6 separate regions of the Homo sapiens genome follow, and all the other regions are linked to region 1. Evidence: promoter capture Hi-C in 16 types of primary human blood cells and fetal thymus (Javierre and others, 2016). All regions are on one chromosome and are shown on one strand. The core of a region is centred on a gene start or on the middle of the fragment in contact, and the rest is flanking DNA. Distances in the headings are between cores, read along the strand shown. Region 1 holds the start of NRN1 (neuritin 1). Region 2 overlaps FOXF2-DT (FOXF2 divergent transcript). Region 3 holds the start of FOXCUT (FOXC1 upstream transcript). Region 4 holds the start of TFAP2A-AS1 (TFAP2A antisense RNA 1). Region 5 has its middle 17 kb from the start of TFAP2A-AS2. Region 6 overlaps GMDS (GDP-mannose 4,6-dehydratase).

What was found. Contacts are between HindIII fragments. The CHiCAGO score rates a contact against its expected background, and 5 or more counts as called.
Region 2: a fragment that was not itself captured here is called in contact with the fragment with the promoter of NRN1 in region 1 in 1 of 17 cell types (naive B cells); the score reaches 5.7 in naive B cells.
Region 3: a fragment that was not itself captured here is called in contact with the fragment with the promoter of NRN1 in region 1 in 2 of 17 cell types (total B cells and naive B cells); the score reaches 14.4 in total B cells.
Region 4: a contact is called between the fragment with the promoter of TFAP2A-AS1 here and the fragment with the promoter of NRN1 in region 1, in 2 of 17 cell types (total B cells and naive B cells). The highest score is 10.5, in total B cells.
Region 5: a contact is called between a fragment that was not itself captured here and the fragment with the promoter of NRN1 in region 1, in 1 of 17 cell types (naive B cells). The highest score is 8.4, in naive B cells.
Region 6: a fragment that was not itself captured here is called in contact with the fragment with the promoter of NRN1 in region 1 in 1 of 17 cell types (naive B cells); the score reaches 6.7 in naive B cells.

The regions. Positions count from the first base shown.
Region 1 is chr6:6,005,193-6,008,417 of GRCh38, reverse strand. NRN1 (neuritin 1) reads left to right here and starts at 1,493. Exons shown (of 3, transcript NM_016588.3): 1 at 1,493-1,723. The coding sequence starts at 1,669. The HindIII fragment of the contact is 16,379 bases long and covers 1-3,225 here.
Region 2 is chr6:1,374,874-1,378,098 of GRCh38, reverse strand. The region is part of intron 1 of FOXF2-DT (FOXF2 divergent transcript); the gene reads left to right. Among named protein-coding and RNA genes, the nearest start is that of FOXF2-DT, 13 kb to the left of the region's middle. RefSeq lists an enhancer at 1-38. The HindIII fragment of the contact is 3,385 bases long and covers 1-3,225 here.
Region 3 is chr6:1,603,142-1,606,366 of GRCh38, reverse strand. FOXCUT (FOXC1 upstream transcript) reads right to left here and starts at 836. Exons shown (of 2, transcript NR_125804.1): 1 at 568-836; 2 at 1-351. RefSeq lists an enhancer at 1-276 and silencers at 1,578-1,647, 1,698-2,117. The HindIII fragment of the contact is 5,314 bases long and covers 1-3,225 here.
Region 4 is chr6:10,410,726-10,413,950 of GRCh38, reverse strand. It overlaps TFAP2A-AS1 (TFAP2A antisense RNA 1), which reads right to left and starts at 1,633. Exons shown (of 3, transcript NR_033910.1): 1 at 1,584-1,633. All of the region lies in intron 1 of TFAP2A (transcription factor AP-2 alpha), which reads left to right. RefSeq lists a silencer at 1,034-1,393. The HindIII fragment of the contact is 20,769 bases long and covers 1-3,225 here.
Region 5 is chr6:10,385,717-10,388,941 of GRCh38, reverse strand. No RefSeq gene overlaps it. Among named protein-coding and RNA genes, the nearest start is that of TFAP2A-AS2, 17 kb to the left of the region's middle. The HindIII fragment of the contact is 4,210 bases long and covers 1-3,225 here.
Region 6 is chr6:1,625,860-1,629,084 of GRCh38, reverse strand. All of the region lies in intron 9 of GMDS (GDP-mannose 4,6-dehydratase), which reads left to right. Among named protein-coding and RNA genes, the nearest start is that of FOXC1, 18 kb to the right of the region's middle. RefSeq lists an enhancer at 1-18. The HindIII fragment of the contact is 658 bases long and covers 1,288-1,945 here.

The DNA.
Region 1 (3,225 bases), core at 244-2,743:
CTTAATCCGTGTGCATTTCTACAGTTTGACAGCTTGACGTCCTCTAGTGTAGTTTGGCAAAATTTGGGGGGTCGTTTTCATTTTTTTCTCTCCACAGGCTTAAGGATTAAAGCTGGCCAATGCCTTCTTTAGCATTTTATTAAAGACGCTACAATTTAGACTTTTTTTTTTTCTGTTTGGTGCAGAAGAAAGGAAGAAAACCAGAGCTTAAAGGCGTTTAGAAAGGAAATAGCCCTGTTAGTTTTTCGGTTTTGACTCAAGCTGTCGTCGATAGCAGCTTGCACCTAGCACAAAGCCAGCTGCAGAAGTATTTTGTTGCAGGGTAGGCTACACCTACACAGGGTCTGTGCCTGAGCATCAAAAGACAGTGCAGGTGTGTGTGGGTCCGGGTGTGCGTGTGCGTACGTGATGTACGTGTGTGCGTGTGGGTACGTGTGTGTGTAGCCCAACAAATAAGCCCAAGAGGCGCATCAAGATTAGAAAGAAGTCCGCACACCAGCGCTTGCCTTGGAAATTTCCTAAAGCGCTGAGAGTTGGTTGGTAAATCACTAGTATCCGAAAACTGTCTTATCAGAGGCTCCTTCCCCGGTGCCCTACTCGCCCCCTAAAACAGGTGTCGCTGTGTCCCTTGAAGCGGCCTTTGGCCCGCTGGGGCATCGCAGGTGGGTAAAATTCAGAGGACATTCGGTGTTTATTTCTGGGGCCCCACGTGTGCAAACCAAACCCCCGGGGCCTGGGCGTGTGCGCGCGCTCGCGTGCCTTGTGTGCGGGCGGGCATGGGGGCGCTCGGCGCGGCTGGCGGGCGTGCGCGCGCGCGTTTGTGTGTGTGTGTGTGTGTGTGTGTGTGTGTGCTCGTGCGGGGGGCCGGGCTGCGTGCTCACGCGCTCCAGGCTGCGCCCAGAGCTCAGCTGCTGGGTTGGAGAAAAAGAGGGTAGGCAAGCGCAGGGGGCGGGCGGCCGAGGAGCGCTTTCGAATTAATCGAGCTAGCTTAGCTGTTTTTCCCTCTCCCGCTCCTTTAAACCCCCCTGCATCGTAGAGAGCGGGCTGGATTCTCTGTGGTGCTGATGGAGGAGGGGGAGCAGGTTGAAACAATCGAGTGGGCGCGCCAGGACTCCCCAGCTCCTGGCGGGGAAGGGAGGGGGAGCCCCTGTTCTGCGCAGGGAGGCGGCGGGGCTGGGGGGCCCCCGGAACGAGGAAGAGGCAGGGGTGACCGCTAGAATAGGAAAGTGCTCACCCCCGGGAGGCAAAATTTCGTTCAGATCGCACATTAATTGGAGATATCTGATTAATTCCAGCTTCTGATGACTATAAATGGCGATTCTCTACCAAGGTGTCTATATTAAAAAAAAAATCATTCCGTGTCATCCCCCACGTCAGGCCTGCTCGTGGGCGTGAGGCTGTACTTCCTCCGCCCCCTTCTAATGGAGTGAACCATTCCCAGCTCTCCCCCCCCCCTCAGCCTCTCTCTCTCTCTCTCTTTCTCTCTCTCTCTCTCTTTCTGTCTCTTCCTCGCTCCCTCTCTTTCTCTCCTCCCTCTGCCTTCCCAGTGCATAAAGTCTCTGTCGCTCCCGGAACTTGTTGGCAATGCCTATTTTTTGGCTTTCCCCCGCGTTCTCTAAACTAACTATTTAAAGGTCTGCGGTCGCAAATGGTTTGACTAAACGTAGGATGGGACTTAAGTTGAACGGCAGATATATTTCACTGATCCTCGCGGTGCAAATAGGTAAGTGGCCGCTCAGCCCGGCTGGAGGCTGGAGGCGGGAGGCAGCCTGCCCCGGCCCGAGGCGCGGAGGGGGACTAGCGGGTCCGCGGCCGCCCCAGGGTGCGGAGAAGCCGGCAATCCCCCGAGGGTGGGGGCATCAGTTCCTGGGGACTAGCGCGTCCCAGATCGGTTTTTCCTAAAGCTATAGATTCCAAATGTTCGCCAGGAAATGTGTGCGGCCGGACATTTTCTGGACACGGTTTTTTTCCCCCTTTTTCCTGAGCACACATCCATTTTTGTTTCCCTTTCTGGGTTTATACCAGGTTTGGTGCGCTCTGGGGCAATGTACTGGCCCCTGCGATACTGCAAGATATGATTTTGAAGAGTCGAAATGTGAATGCAGGAATAAAATGGCTAGGCAGCCAGGACTGGAAAGTTTATGTGCTGAAAGCAAAGATATTCCAGGGCTCAGACTGCTGCATTTAGAACTTTGTCATTCTCCCGCCCCTCCTCCCCCCTATATCCTAGCTGCAGCGTTTGCACGGGCACCGCAGACCCGGCTGGTGGGCAAATCGAGAGTGATAGGGAACTTCAGACCACATATTTTAACATGCTTACCATTGAAGAGGATGAATTCAGCCAAATTTACGTAGATATACTTTTCTAGATGCATTTGCCTGCTACTTTACACATTGGTGTCTGCATTTTATATATAGGAAAGGGTTAAGAAGTGTTTGGAATATGTCATGTCGGGTGTTTGTTATTTTTGTTTGTTTGGGATTGGTTATGGAAGGAATTATTTAGTCCCCATTTTATGTTAAGGAATGTTGAGTTGTAGTTACGCTGTCAGGGGTCTTTTTAAAGTTCACATTTTTACCATCCAGAATGAAGAAAAGATATAGAAGAGGGCACTAGAAAACCCCCTTCTCCGACACTGGGTCAGAACATTAATTAACGTGGCCTAAAAGTGAAAGTGAAGCAGGTTATTAATAGAATGGACAACACGGGGGAAAAAAGAAACTCCTGAAACGGAATTGTTACCTCCTATCAGTTCAGGCTGTGGCATTCTTTGCAGACAAATCCTTGCAGTATTGGGGGAGGGGGTGCTTTAGGTAATTGGTTTGGGGCAAGAAAGGAGAATGCATAATATGTTTTTTCCATAAGAAATGTGAAGGAAACAAGGTTTGGAGTTCTCTAGACCTTAAAATGGATTCTTTGCAGTGGGGTTTTATGCAACTGACATGATTTTGAGATTTTATAATGCAGAAACATTATAAAGATTTTAGAGTGTGTGAGTGCAGGATATTGGTGTTTTCCTTTAGTTCCAAAAAATGACAATGCTTTAAATCTGGTTGTTTTGAATCTTTGACATTAGTGAAAAGAGCTGCTGTAAATAATATTTCTAATGGCAGCAAATTCCTTAAATGTTGGAAATAAGTGAATGTGGCATTTTGCAATAAACCTTTGAATTTTTAGAGAGCAGGAGAGAGAGTTGTTTTTGAGATAGAAATTTTAATCGGACA
Region 2 (3,225 bases), core at 389-2,888, 4.6 Mb after region 1:
GAGGCTTGAATGGCCTTTTTAGAGTTCCAGGCCCCTGGGATTTGCAGACTTCTCTGCGGTAGACCGACTATTGGTGATGGACTTTGCATTTTCCCGCAGGAGGGTGAAGCTGCCGGCCGACTTCCTCCAATATGCATATTTTACATATATAAACACCTTTGCAGTTTTATAGCCATTTAAATAAACCATTCACATAAACTCTTAACTCTTAAAACGATCCGCACAAAATAGCTTTTATCTCAGATCATTTTCACTCTTCTTTTAATTACTGGCTTTTGTAGCTTGGGTTTTACCTCCAGGCTGGTGGCCAAAGTGTTTTTACGTCCAACTAGGCCGTCTCTTCTACGGTACCTTAGTACCGCAGTAACTTTCCCTATCAACATGGACACAGACTAGAGTCAACCTTTAATTTTCTCAGTTGGATGGGTAATCTATTTTTGGGAGAAGCAAATGTCCCCTTCGTTTGGTCCTTGTTGGTTCTTCGTTAGCGAGGGAGAATGCCGGTGGGGCCTTCAGCAGCAGCATCCTAACAGTGTTGCAGCGGTGACTAGTTTTTGGCTTTAAAAAAGACAGACCCGTCGGGCGCGGTGGCTCACGCCTGTAATCCCGGCACTTTGGGAGGCCGAGGCGGGCGGATCACGAGGTCAGGGGTTCGAGAGCAGCCTGGCAACACAGTGAAACCCCGTCTCTACTAAAAACACAAAAATTAGCCAGCATGGTGGCGCGCGCCTGTAATCCCAGCTACTCGTGAGGCTGAGGCAGGAGAATCGCTTGAATCCGGGAGGCGGAGGTTGTGGTGATCCGAGATGCCACCACTGCACTCCAGCCTGGGCAACAGAGAGAGACTCCGTCTCGAAAAATAAACAAATAAATAAATATAAATAAAAAAATAAAAAAGACTGACTTGCTTGATGAGCCAGATATTCACCTATTTAGTCTTCAAGTCTCTAGACCTATTATAAAATATGTCAAGCACCTGAGAAGCTGTGAGCGGTTACCATATGTCAGCTTTTCATTCAGCAGAAGGGGAGGGGGGCTCCTAAAGTTTTTTTTCTCCCTTGAAAGGGAAGGCTGTTTGGGGACCCGAAAATATAAACAAAACCTCCAGAAACCCATGTTTTGGAACAAAATGGGTGTGGAAAGCTAAGCAGGCCAGTTGGGCAGACAGGATTTGGGGATGGAGGCTGAGGGAGGCAGGGGACTCTGTAGAACCTGTGGGTAGCCGTGCCTGTCTGAGTGAGGGGACAGAATGACAGTCTGTGCTGGTGGCAGAGAAAGGGACAAGCGAAAGAGGCAAGGAGTGGCAGATTCTCTTTAGGAGAATTTTCCATCTGGAAAGAAGGTTTATGCATCCATCACCCATCTCTGGTAAGATGCTTGGTGTAGGTGGAAGGGCGTATGTTGGCATTGGCCTGAGGGAATCTGCCTTACTGAGCTCGGCTAAAAAGGAATTTAATAAACTTCTTTTGTTTTGTGGTTTCTACCTATGGAAAACTTTTCTGCAGTTGGAGGGCTCTCAGAAGAGATCCAAGACAGGAAACCTTTCCATTTGTAAATCAGTTACAAAAAATATGCAGTTGAGTTAAGCATTTTATGGCAATAGGAATTTAATAAAAAGGGAAAGAATATAGCTGTATAGAGTAGGTAAGCATGACTGGAGAATAAATTTATTCTTTTTGTTTGTTTCATTTTGTTTTTATTTGCTAACACCAGAATGTGTAATTTCATAGCAATGGAAAAATAATAAGCAATTTTGGGTGTCTCAAATTCATTATAATGTATTCCTGAACCCTTTCTAACTAGGATATTATTTTGAGGCCAAAACTGATTGATGTCTAGACTTTGGATGTCTCTACAAAGTGAGAATTGGAGCTGGCAGTGTCATAACACCACTTGAAAACATTTCTTCTGGCCTTTATTATTTGCACTTTTTCTTCAAGTTTTCATTCACTTTTCTAATTTTTTAAAACTCTCCTAGCACAATGACATAGCGCAATTCACTTTTATACCTTGAGTTAAAAGTGGAATTTCAATTGATGAAAATAGAGGAAATAAGGTTACTCAAATAATGCCAAGGAGTTCATATGCATCATTCAAGTTACCTTCAAGACTGCCATTTAAATGACTTCTTTTTTTTTTTAAGTAAGATTAATATATTTGTCTTTATAGTAACACCTTCAAAAATATGCGATTTTTAATATTTTGGGGATGAAGTGACCCATGAAGGCATAAGTGCCTTGGTCCATGAGAGTCATCATGAAGCCATGATTTATTTTTTGTTTTTCTTTATATAAATATAATCACATTACAAAAGTAGGATTCTTTCCCCATCTTTCCTTAGCCTATTTTTCTTATGTAACAAAATATCATAAATATTAACTAGTTTTTAAAGTTTTAAATATTACTTTGAGAATTTAATTTATTTTTAAAGATTCTAAATTTATTTTTCTTTTTATGTGATAACCTGCACAGCGTTTACTTGCTATTCACTGTTTTTTCTAGAAAACATAAACAACTTGGCAAATCTCCTATTAATCTTTTAAAGAGGAAGAGGTAGAAGTCACCCTTGCTCTTTGGAACTGAGAAAAGTGGAGTCATGGAAGATTGAAAGTCAACCCTAAGGCCAATGCAGTTTGACATTGTCATTAATCATGGGGAATTTGGAAAGAGGGCAGTATGCTGGAAGATAGGATATGAATGTAAATATCTTGCTACATCTGGAGAATTTTGCAGATGTTTGGTTCTTTGGTTTGCCTGACATTTCTTCTTTCTACTGGTGAGAGCATCTTCGTATCCTTAGAGAGAACTCTGTTTCTCCCATTCAGTGTTGTCCTAGTGTAGCCACACTGCTATGACACCCTAGACGTAGAGAGTCATGTGACCTATGCATGTCTATTCTACCTGTCCTCTGGCCACAGTACTTGGCCAAGTCTAGGCACAGGGTCACCCTCTGTCACATAGAGTGTTTCCCTGGGATTGTTAGTAAAGGCAATGAGAGAGAGGCTCACTCTTTTCCCTCTGGGATTATGAGCATTAAGGATACACACTTGGAACTGTGCATGGCCACATCATCACTCCTCTGGTTTCTAGGTGAAGCTCATGTACAATGGAAGACACTGGGGCCAGTGTACAGGAGGGAGCAGAGGACACAGACACGGGGTACTGACAACATTTTTGGAGGCTGGGGCTGACCTAGGCCCAGGAGTTCTCATTTTATCATCCAAT
Region 3 (3,225 bases), core at 438-2,937, 4.4 Mb after region 1:
ACTAGGCTGCCATCACAGACCACTGGAGCAAGGTCCGCTTGGGGATGTCTTTGAGCTTTTTAGATTACTTAGATAATTGTCTTAGTTCTCCATTCGGCCTCCTTTGCTTAGACCAGAATCCCAGGGGTAGGGGAGGATATCCTTGCATCAATGCCCGGCATTCGTTTTCAAACCACCAGGCCGGCAGGCAACGTTAGTCATCGGTGCGACTTTTCAGCGGAGGAAGGAGTGGGGACCGAACATCTGGGTGGCCGCGACCTTGGGCAGATACTCCTTAGCTGGGGGATTTTCAAGTAGAGGATTTGTCAGCACAGTCCCTCCAATTCAGCCCCGTCCTTAGTAGAAAAATTTCTACAATAAACGAAAAGAGCGTTTGGTTTTCGATTGTTTTAAAGACAAAGTGATCCATATTGCCTGTCTACATGGTTGGATTAATCCGATAGTTGCCCTCCTGGGGGCAGACCTCCACGGGAAGTTTGTGTGATGGGATAATTTAATGTCATCTAAGTCCCCTGGAGGGGCGGTTCCCCTAACTACTCACCCAGGAGAAAGCCAGCCAACACCTACCTGATCGTTCCCGCCTCGGGATGGCCCACCTATCGCCCCTTGGCAGGAAAGCCCCCGCCTCGAAGGGCGTTTCGGGGGCTCAGAGCCGAGCTAAGCTGCAAGAGGGGGCCATGGGGAATGCGGGAAGTGAATCTTTAACTTTGGTGCCCGGCTTCAAAAGACTCAGGGCTTCTTGTGTTCAGGCAGAGGTAAATGGAGATTCAAACTGTCGTCTTGCATTAACAATCCGGAATAAAAATAAAATTCGTAAAGGGATAGATGATCGGAAAGAACAAATGGTGCATGTGTGCGCGAACGAGCCCCAGTTTCTCTCCATCCAGGTCCCCAGCGGACTCAGAGCGGCCGCCGCACTCCACGGCCTGGGAGGACAGAGGCCCCGCAGCCTCCCAACCTCGGCTCATGTGGGGGGCGCGCCGCGCAGGGTGGGCGAGTCCCCAGGCCCCAGAGTCTGCCGGAGCCAGGGTGCGCGGTGCGGCGGGAGCCGGCCGTCGGAGGACTGCAGGGCGAAAGCGCCTTCCTGGGGCTGGAGCAGAAGGCGTGTGCCCCTGCACGGACGCGCCTTGGCTGTGGGTGTGGGAAGAAAGGCTTTGCCCCGTGAGACAGACCCACAGACAGCCCCGGAGCCGCCGGCGGGGTGAGGTGGGCTGCAACCTTGCAGGTGGCTGGCTGTTCCCAGGTCTCCGGCCCGGCGCCGCAGCGGACCCAGGCGCCGGGGCCGCAGCCAGCCTTCCTTCCGAGTGCTCCCTTCGCGGAACCCTGCGCCCTGGGACCTTCCTTCCGACGTCCCTCACCCCGGCCGGGGAGTGGCACCAACGCGGACGCACCGCCGGGCCTCCTGCGGGTAAGGCGCGGTCGGCCCCCAGCTCTGAGCCTTCTGGGCAGGAGCCCCGGGGGCCTGGGCCGGGGCCGGTGTTTGCACCTCTCAGGACAGGGACAAGGCCGACACCCGGCTCGGTGCAGCCGGCCTCCCCCGAGGACCTGAGGGCCGACGCCTCCGGGAACCGCTGGTCCTCGCGAGTGGGTCGGCGCCTGGCAGCGCGCGCCGGTGACCTGGTGGTCCGTCTGCTCCCAGGCCGCCCCTCACAGGCTTCCCGCCGCTTCCCCGCGAGCGTCAGCAGAAAAAGGGACGATGTGGAAGCCCGGAGGCCCCTTGGCCGACCCAGGCTGGGGCTCTCAGGCTGGGGGCACCTCACCCCGGCAGGTCCCGCGCCTCGGGAACCCGGGGCCAGGCAGCCGTCCTGGGCGCCCGCACCGCGCACTGCGCGTGCTACGAGCGCCCCCTGCCGTCGGAGGCGTTGTCTCCGCGGCGCCTCTGCCCGCGCCGGGCTCCAAGGGCCGGCTCCGCCTGTCCCCGCACAGCGTCCCCTGGGAACCGGGTCTCCAGAGAAGGAGGCCTGGGGAAGACCGCGCCGCCCGCGTGGGACCCCGCAGGGCCTGGCACCTGGTTTTCTAGGCTGCAACTCTCATCCCTCAGGGTCCGGGCGGGAACAGCCCCATCGGGGAGACCCTCTCAGACTTCCAGGCACAGACCACGGACGCTTTTGTTCCTGGAGTGGAGGGAGGTGACCCGAGACTGGGGCTTTCAGCCACCGCTACGCATTCCTTCCAGGCGGCCCTTTTAATTGACGTACACGTTACAGAAAAAGCAAGGCCGCTCCATCCAGTGAATTACATTGTGGGAGATGCCAAGGAATGTATTTACTGGCAGCCAGGTTTGCCAATAAAAGTTGCAAATAAAGACTGCTGGTTTCCAGGAAAATGTACTTCTGTTTTTTAAACACTCCTTAGTCTTAATTACCAAAAACTGAGCCTCCAAAGAACCGGTTTCGAGAACAGGACCAGTGAGTGGCGGTGCTGGCGAGGCCTCACACCCCCACGTGCAATCACACACCCCGATGTCGCCTATGGGAACAAGGACCATGCACACCTATGGCTTTGCCCACAGAGAGGCTCGCCCGTATTTACATACGCAGCAGACACAGACACAGGCGAAACGTTGGCACACAGAGAGGTATGCGCTCGGATTAGGGCTGTTTAGTTTGGAAGTGAAGAAATAAGAAAAGACAAACTATGGCAAACAGGCGAATTTCCACAGAAATAAATGTCTGCGAGGAAAGGAGGCACTTGCTCTGTAGTGTTTAGTTATGGTCGCCCTGGTAGTTCTTTTTAGTCCGACCGGGTTGACTATAAATGAAGGCAGCAGAGAAATGCAGAATTTACATTTACTAAAGGTCCGCTTTGGCTTGGGGTCACAAGGACCCCAGTGGGAATTAGAAAATCTCCCCACTCACTAGATGGAGCAGCACCTCCCCCCACAAAAAAAGGGGTTTGGGGCAGAGTGTGCACGCTAATGAGAGGCAAATTTATTCCATGTTTCTCCAATCTTAAACACGGACACTCATAACCACAATTATAAAGACTGGTAGGATGCACAGAACACTTAGTATGCGGTCATCCTGCTGTGTGCTTTAAACACTCCTTTCACCTAATCCTCACAAGGACGCTGACATGGATATTATGATCTACATCTTACACATGAGGAAACTGAGCTTAAAGAAAAGAGAGAGCTTTCCCAAGATTACACAGCCCTCGCAGTTGCACTCTGCACAGGCTCACTGGATCTAAGACGCCACTTATGATAAGGTACAGTGCTTATGA
Region 4 (3,225 bases), core at 384-2,883, 4.4 Mb before region 1:
GAGAGAGGGGTTGGGGTGTGTAGGGCTGGAGATTACCTAAATAAATAGGTGGCAGTCCCAACTTTTGCTGTTTTTTTTTTTTTTCTTTTTTGGCATTTGCAGCTGAGAATGTTAGGCAGGAGGTGTGTGTGCAGGCGCAGGGGCGGAGATCTTGACTTCACTCGAAACCAGAAATTGGGTTTATGTGAACGATGTGTCACCCGCTCCCTCCTCCCTTTTCTTTCTGAAGATTATTTTAAATCGTTCTCCTTTCAGGCCCCCCACCCCGGTAGATGGGGACGGGGTGACATCCCACGGGTACTGGCTCTTCCCTGGGGGGGTCCTGTCGCGCTAGAGGAGGGGCGCAGGGACCCCACGTCAGACCAGTCGCTTTGTTTTCGAGGCTGGGGGCGAGCTTTGCGGGCAGGTAGGAATGAAGCCGAACCCCTCAGTCTCATAGGACAATTCATACTGTACTGGTCTGGGCTTTGGCCGGAGGCTTGGGCATTTCACTTTCGCAGAGGCCGAAACCCAGCTCCAGGTGTGGGCGCCCTCGGCGGGCGGGGTCCGAACCTCCGTGCGGCTCTAGGTGCCGACTGGATGGGGTGGGTGGCTAGGTGGGGGATGAACTTGCACCCCTAGAGGGATCCTGTGGGGGCAAGTGTGAATGCGTGTGTAAGCGAGGCAAAAAAAGATGAGAGAGAGAGGAGAATAAAGTCAAAGCTGTTTCCACAACTTTGGCCGTGGTGGGCAAGCGCCGGAGCGGGGATTTCGGGTTTCGGAGCTGGCTTGGGGCAGTCTGATTGTGCCGGGGCTCTGTAGGGACACGCAGGAGGCGAGGTGCCGCTTGTTCTGACAACCTGGCGGGTAGACTGGCAAAGGCAGCACGCCGGGAGAGCTAGTCGTGTCATCTGGGGGGGCGTCAGGCGGGAGTGGCCCAGCCAGTCGGACGGGTTTTTGCCGGGAGCCGCGAGCCGGTGCCAGCGGCGCCCGGGCTGGGCCGCCTAGCGTCTGTGCGCGCCCCGGCCCGCATCCCGGCTCCCGATCCGGAATCCCCGGCCCCAGAGAGCCGAGGGCAGAGCGACGGTGGCCGGGGAGCGCACGGTGCCCCTGTCCGAGGAAAGCTCAAGAGGAGGCCGAGGAGAGGACCAGTGCAGCGAGCGGGCCGGTCCCGGGCAGGGCGCCGGGTCATGGAGGAGCCGCGCAGCAGCGGGCAGCCGAGTCCCGAGTCCCAGACTCGGCTGCGAAGCGGCGGAGCCCGCGGCCAGACAGGGCCGGGAAGCGCCTGCCGCGCCGAGAGCCCCACGAGCGCCCGGACGCGGTCCCAAGCAGCTCCTACCCGCTACGCACGACCCCCGCTGCATCCCGAGGTCTGCCCCAGCCTTTTAGGTCTGATTGTCCTCGCTCGCTTCCTCTCCCCTTCCCCCTCCCCCGCGGCCTCCCCCTCCGTGCGCTCCGGCTGGGCCCCCTCCCCCTCCCTCCCTCCCTTCCTCCCTCCCTCTTTCCCTCCCTTCCTCCTCTCGGGCTCTCCCTCCTTCCCTCCCTCCCCTCTCCCCACCCGGGGCTCCTCTCCCTCGCCCACACTTTCTTTCTCACACACGCACGCAGACACATTCTCCCTCTCTGCGCTCTCTCCTTCGGTCTCCCTCTCTGCCTCTTTCTCTTTCACTTTTGCATGCCCTGCAACCTTTTAAAATGTTGCCCCTTCCCTGTGATTCGCCAGACGCCGCGCCGCGGCCCCCCGCGCGCTCGCCCGCTCCCTCTCTCGCTCGCTTTTTGTCTCTCGCGCTCCCTCTCCCCACTCCGATTTGCTACACTGAGACTCCCGTCAATGGACTGCATTGAGAGCCGGCTCCGGCGCGAGTTGCCTCTCCGCTTCACGCTCGATTTCCAGGCATTCTTCCCTTATTAAGTATTCGTGTAATATTAATAGTCATGAATATCTGCTATTAGGAGGCTCCAGGAACGCTGCCCAGCGCGGTTATTAGAAGCTCAAGCGAAGCCGCCGCTAAGAAAAGAGGGGGAGACACGGATTAAGGAACACGCACGCACCCACACACTCACACATACTTTTTCCTTTTTCCTTTTTTGGGGTTTTTCATTTTTAAAGAACTTTGAATCATAACCAGTCGCGGCAGGATAGAGACCGTGGGTTCGACCAGCTGAAGGCGCCGCGCGAATCGGTGGTTCAAGTTCGGATGGATCCGAGCCGGGCTCCCGCGCTCCGGGGAGCGTCGGCGCCGTGACTGGAGTCCTGGGTGGCGCGGGGCTCTCGGCGCCTTTTGTGTGGGGCGCGCTCGGGCGGCGGGGCAGCCGGGCGCTCCAGGCTTGCTTGTTTTTTTCCACCCTGACTCGTTACCCCAGACTCTTCGCAGATGTTAGTTCACAGTTTTTCAGCCATGGTGAGTCCCATCCCCACCCCCGTTGCTGTTTCTTTAGGAATTGGATTCTGGAAACCTGGTGCCGTGGAGCTGCCCGAAACCTCGGGTTTCACGCCCAGCTTTCCTTCAGGACACCCTCTCCATTTGCATCCCCCACCCCACCTTCCGCCTTTCTCTCGCTCTTTTCCATCCCTAAATCGAGTGCATTACCCCCTACCCCAGCCCCCGCTCGACCTCTCCGAGCACGCAGACCTACCTCGCCGCGGCTTCCCAAGGCGTGTTTCTCCCCACGTTCATCTTGATTTCCTTGAGTCTTCACTTGTCCCCGAGATGTTCTCAACATTTGATGCTTAAACTGTCTGCAGGAAAAGTGCAGCGCGGTGTGCCCCCTACCCTCGGGACCTGCGGCCGAACCGCCGAGGGTTCGCGGTCTCTGGAATCAACTCTCTTCGCTTGTTTTGCAAGGGAATTGCAATAGAGAAACCTAAAGTCAGGCGTTTCTTCTGCCCTTTGGGGCTGGGGTGGAAGGGGCGGGGGGGGGGGGCCACAGCCCCGGGGTGCACCTCTCTCTTTTAAACCCAATAAGGCTGAATCTTTCTATTTTAAACCTTGACTTGACGTCCCCCTTTCCCTATCCAAACCATAAATCGACTCTGTCGAGAAAAAGGCTCCTAACAGAGGAAGCGAAAAAGACAGACCCCGATCCTGCAGTTAAAACCTTCTTTAAGCTGGTAATTTAAACGTGTGTTTTTGTTACAGCCCCTCTGCGAAATATGTTTCTATTTAAGTAGTCATGAAACGGTAACAGTCTTTGAACGTTTATGATTTTTTTCTCTCCAAATAAATGGAAGAGAATAAACAATAA
Region 5 (3,225 bases), core at 414-2,913, 4.4 Mb before region 1:
TTCCCCTCCCTCCTCAGATGTCCAGGCTAAGGAAGACTGTGAAGGGCTTGAAAGTGATCAGTTGTTTCCTGCTCAAATGGACCCTTCAGTGCCAACCCTACCGGCCTTGGTCCACTTTCAGATTCAGATGAAATCATTGCAGTCTCCCGGATTAACTAAATGGATGAGCCAAATTCACTGCTGACATTGATGCCCAGGTGTTCAAGTCAAACCTCCATGATCACAGTTTTAAGATGTGGTTGGCAACATGCTGCCTTAAGTTCTCTAAAGTGTTCAGGCTGTGGGATGAGAAGTGATAGGACTTTGGAGCAAAGGCTGTCCTGACTCATCCTGAAAACTGGAAAATGGGGTACATTTCACAGCTCAGTAGCTTCATGTCTTAAGAACGAGAAATCACTTCATTATGGTTATAAAACAGTAAAGGATGGATAACATCCTTCAAAACCCCAACCACAAGAATTGCCAAGAGAAAGAGTGATTTTTAAATTTTTATTCATTTGCTTATATTATGATCTTTTTGTAATTACAGAATAAAAGAAAGACTCAGTAACACCAAGACCTCCTCCAGCCCTCATTTCCACATCCCTATAGTTACCTGGGGGTGAGGGTGGGAGTGGGCAATGGATTCAGAAGGAAGCAGTAATCTTCAAAGGAAAAAATAAGTTAAATACTAACCACCAGAATGGCAAGGGCTATGAGAACCCTCCGCTGGGGGAGACTATACTCAATATAATGTAGTTGTTGCATATTCTGTTTCCTACCCCCATACTCCATAGCCAGTTGAATGGAAGCACCCAAGATAATGGTTCCAAAAAGGGTAACTATTTCCATGGAATATCAGGGAGCATGGGCGTGTTGAGTCTTAACCTTGAGGATGTTGCTTCAAGTCAGAATGATCTTGGAGATTCCCATGAAGTTCAGAGACTGGGACACTGAGTGGGTTTCTCTTCTTGCAACATGAGACATGATCAGATGGTTCCAGCTTCTTGGATCCATGAGAACAAGGTGGGCTTGGGGGAGACCCATTATTAGGAGATAATGAGTTATAGGGAATCTCTAACCAGTCATGGGACTGCACCTATTAAACCATAGGTTAAAGTTCTGATGAGAAACTTCGAAAATTAAACCAGCCTCATTATTAAATGAGACCATTCTTGGAGGGATTTTTCTTTTCAAACACTCAAAGAGATGAAGGTCTCTCCAAACCTCACCTCCACCACTGCTTTCCGTCTCTGCGCTCTATAAGGTTCTGCAGCATCTTGCTAGTTTAGCTCAGGTAAAGCCAGGGGGAGAGCTGGGAGGGAAGGCTGGAGTGGCAGTCCCTGACACGCTCTGGGAAAGCCTGTGTTCCTCAGTGACATAGCTTAGAAGTGGGGAGAATCCACCTGCCTGTTCCTGCAGGGACTTTTTGCAACTAACTTGATCAGGAGATTTGAAAGGAAGGCTGGTGCTAACTGAACAGGGAGGTGCCTCGGGGAATCCTGGGACTGGAAAATCCCTTGCTATACCCTCTAGTATAACTCCCAGCCCTTGGAAATTAGTGCCATTTCAAGAGAATCAAGTCACTGGCCTGTGACTGCGATGCTGGGCTACTTAGGAAAACCATCTCAATTGGTGTTACTAAGTTTGAAGAAAGCTCTTCTAAGGAGAGGAATCTAGAAACAAGAGTTGAGAGAGCCCTCTTGAATTTCCCTCCTACCCATCATCTCCCCTCCTCCCCTTACTGAGCATTTTGGCTGAACTTACTGTTTCTTTGTTTTTCCCTCTTTGCTGAGAAAACTTTAAGAACCTTCTACTCGGCTTAGATTTAACCACAACCTTTACTGAATCTGGCTTATGAAAACCAGACTTCTCTAAGAGACGGGTCTTCTGGCAGCAATTAGTCTGACTTTTCTTTAACAAAATTCTTTGTAATGCCATTCAGAAAACAGGTCGGTTGGTAGGAGTTTGTGGCACAGAGTGCGTATGTGTGTGGGTGAGTACAGGAGGGAGTAGTTGGGGTGGGAGGATGATGTTACAGAGGGCCAATTTGTATGATTTGGTGGAAAAAAAGTTCCAATGTTAACACATTAACTTTGGGAGCTGTGAAATATTTAATTAGTGCACGGGTTGGGATCCTATTAAAACTGGCTCTATTTCTGAAGGCTGCCCTGAAAATCTGCTTGTCCCTTTTTCTATGTGCAAAGTGTAAAACAGCATTGCCATCTCTCCTTGCCACGGAATTATTTCAAACGGTTTACTACAGCAGTTTGTCTTTACATGCAGAGCTGCCTAGAACAAACAAAAGAAAGATCCAATGAGTGAATTTTCCAATGTAGAGGATTCCAGGGGTAGATATGAGGGAAGGGAGAGAGAACTTGGAGGAGTAAGGAAACAATACTGTCATCAGCCCAGAAGCAGCTTCTCAGTTTCTGACTCCTGGGGCAGCAGCATAGCCCTAGAGATGCCCTCCTCCTCCCCACATGTATTTAAAAATCCAACCCCACAACACACACACAACAAACAAGAGACCTATTCATTGAGTCTGCAAAGCCACCTTCTTCTCGTGGTTATGCAAATACTAAATTGAATCAACCAGCTATAACTGTTCAGTCCATTGCTGAAATATGATAGAAAAAAAGTTGAGTATTCCGAGGAAATTGATTCCAACAGTTCATTTTCAGTTAGTGTGGATGTCTGTGTGTCTGAAGGTGGAGACACAAACACATTTTTTTTTTGTTAAAGTTGAGGCTGCCATTCTGAAAAGCAGCCTACAATTTTACATTCCCCCTCTGCTTTCTCTCCTGGGGAGGTAAGAATTTGAGCCATTTGAGATGCAATGCAGCAAACTCTGGGCAGCCCATCCCTGGGGGAGAGGACTCCTCCCTGAACTCCCTCCTCCTCCTCCTCCTGGTTTCCTTTCCTTGACAGGACCCGAGGTCCAGTTGAATTGAGAGCCCACCCCAGGCGGGAAGACAGCCAGCTCCTGCATTCAATTCTGCCTGTAGGAAGCAAGGGTTGTGGAGACGGCCGGCGACCCCGCTGGGAGCAAACACAGGCTCCCCTTGGCTTTCAGACCTGGGGCGCAAGGACTTTCTTTAGGCTACGGAGAGATCTGTGTCTTGTTCTGGAAAACCCAGGGCGTTCCCTCCCTTCTCTAGGCCTCTGGAGTAGCTGATTTAGCAAACGTATGGACAGCCATGCCAGCAGTACCTCAGTTTCCCTAATGCGGAGACCAAGGAGGGA
Region 6 (3,225 bases), core at 367-2,866, 4.4 Mb after region 1:
ACTAGGATACTCTGTGAGACTTGAGAGCTTTTTCCTGAGGCTTTTTGTTGTTGTTTAGCAGCTCTGCCTTTCTGAAAAAGAAACATTGCCCCAAGAGTCAAGCTTTCCTATTCACTCTACACTAGCAGAAAGTTGGATCAAGAACCAAATTCACTGGCATTCTTTTATTCCCTTGGAACCTGAGCTATTCCTCAATTTTGCTTTTCTAAGAAAAGTAGAAGGGAAAAAAAGAATATTAAGCGCCCCTCACAGCTCTGTATCTTAAATTCCTGAAGATATTTCGCCAAGGCTTTCATCAGTCTCGGCTTTCCTTATTAACATCCCTGTCCATACATCTTCTCCTATTTAGGGCATCAAGAGTCAATTTCTTCCAAGATGTACATTAGAAATTTAACAATAATCTGCCAAAAGATCTCATACTCTTAGAATATTTCTCCACCTAAACAGATGTTCTTTGCAAACCTTATAAGCAGACCTGTTGAGGAAATGTGGCATCCAACACCTAGTTTGAACTAAATATTAAAGTTTTCCCAAAGCAAACTCAGTGAAAAGGGGAGAAAATGAAATGAGACTGTGAACCTCAAAAAATCATCCTATGTGATACAGTCTGTTGAATAGCATTCCCCACAATGGTTTTAGAGAAAGTGATATGGAGGTGGGAGGATCCCAGGCAATAAATGTGTTAAAGAAGGATCAAAATAACATCGGGGGAAGGAATGAAAACTAACCAGTGTGATTTTAAAGCTGCGTTGTTATCTAGATGGGAGAGATCTGAGGAAAGGGACCTGTCGTTAGGGTAGAAGATAATGGCACACTATGGTCTCTCCTTTTCTGGAGTTTGCGTTAACTACTGTGGGCTCAGAAACAGGCTTAATGACTTTTCCAGCATTTGGTCTGGCGCTTTATCAGTTCACTTTAACAAGAACGTAAGCCAGGAAAGCCTAAAAAATGGCTGCAGCCAAACATGCCCTCCTCCATGCTGCTGTTTGCAGCTCTGTAAATGTATGCCTGGATGGTACAGCTAAAGGACAACTCCCGAAGGTCAAATGAATACACACAGTCCGTGAGTCAGAAATCTGGAGGGCTGTGTGGACGGAGACATTGCTCCTGCTGTTTTGCTGCTGTGAAATGCTCAGTGAAACCTAATTGAATTTGACAATTATAAATTACATATTGAAACCGTATAGTTCACCTAAGGAATAGCAATGAAAACAGTGAAGACACCAGAAGCCAGAGTTCAGGAAATGTCATATTCACATAGAAATACTTTAAATTTTTCTCAAAGCTTTATTTTCTCTTTTTTCAAGAAAAGCTCCAGACCACCCAGTTGCACTGGTGGAAGTCCTTTTGGGAAGCTGTACATAAAATCATCACTTTAATTCAGCTTTTGCCCCCATTGTCATACTAAGGCTGTAAGCATATGTATAATGAAGGAAACGAACTGTCAAAAAAGAAGAAAAGAGCACAGTAGATAAGCTCATTCTTCTCTCTTGTCCTTAGGAGCTGATTATACCCTATTGGAGGGGATTTGTGGAAGTTCAAAAATCTTTAAGAGGGAGGTAAAGATTAAAGGGACGTGTATCATGGCCCACGCTCCCCTCTCACTCCTCACAGTTCTGTATCTGAGCACAGCAGTTTGGACCCCGTTGTATGAGCATTTGCCACCACCTAATTCCTTCTCAGCCCAGAGGAAGCCTTATTTAAGGAAGGGAATCCACATCCTTGCTCTCCTTCTAGAGCTGTGTGCGCTTTCCCACACAGGCCCTCCCCACGCCACCCTTTAAGTATGTCCTGTGCCTAGAACCTTGCAGGATGAACCATTGACTATATCTTTTCTATAAATGACACAATGGGAAGAAGTAAGAAATTCCTTCAGGAACAGTTAAGTGTAAAACAAGCTGGGATGCTCGTAGTCTTTCCTTAAAAGTTGATTGGAACATAAGCTTACTGCCCAGTCCAGATGTCAGCCTAGGAACAGCTGGCATAGAGAGCCAATGTTTTGTTCTGAGGGGACCTCATCCTTTTTCTTCCCAAGGTCTCTTGGTCTAATTAAATTTCAGGGAGACAGAGCCTTGGCAGAAGGTTAAAGGAAGCAGCTAGACTGCAGTATTGGAGCTAGGCTCAAAACTAAATTGAGAAGTTTAACTGGGTGCGTCTCTGGTTTCAATGAAATACTTTTACAGTGTATGGTAGCAAGGTCTGTTTCTAAGCCTTTGAAAAACATTTTTCTTTTTCCTTAATTGTAGTTCCCTGGTTGTTTTTATATTGTGAGCTACTTGTAGAAAACTACAGGAAACATAATTACAATACAAAGCTCCATTTCCCAAGCCTACCAAGATTATTTGAAGCCAAACTGGGTTTTAGGGTTTTGCTGACTATGAGTTCACAGCCATGAAATGCATCCTATGTCGTGCTGGTTGATTTACAGCCAGTGTGATGTGATTAAACAATAACCATGTTTCTCCACACCGTCTAGCCGCTATAGGATTGAGAGAGGGGAGGGATGGGCTGCATGACTCCACATTGCACAGCTTCCTCTGGGGAAAAAGAATGAGTATCTTTGTGTGACGCTTATAGCAAAATAGAAGCCTGTAGAAATATATACAAGTTTATTTAGGGAGGGGAAAGAAAAATAAATTACTTCGTTTTTCTGCTTATATTGCTATTTCCTTGTAGCGCTATGTTAAATTGCTAATTACTACTTTTTGTATTCTACTTTTCCTGAAGAATCTGTATATGGACTTTTAGGGCCAGCAGAAATAACTTGTTTTAGTACTATTAACACTCTGGGGAGGAAACTGGTACTTCAGTGTATTGCGAAATGCAAAGCGTTTGAAAAAGTAGTGATGGATGATGAGAACGACAGCGAGAGTCGCTGCGTGTACTGCTGCAGCCCCATTGCAAGCCCACGGTGCAGACATTCAGCAGGATCCAGACAGCCTCTGCTCTAGAAGGCTCAGCAGAGAAGGTGAGCTCCAAACCCAGGGCAAAGCAGGTCCCACCCCTGCCCTCTCGACCATCATGAATCTAGAACAAATTCCCCACCTGCCAAGTTTCAGGGAAGTCTGAAGAAAATAAGCAGGAAAGGCTTTCAGTGGCAGCTTGACTGGCTGTTACTTTCACACGATGAAACTCCTTTTAGGCTGTTCTTTAATTTGTATGTAGCTGAAATAGAATGATCGAGTATTTCTCACCTTTAAAGATCGGCTATTTTCGTACGGCCTT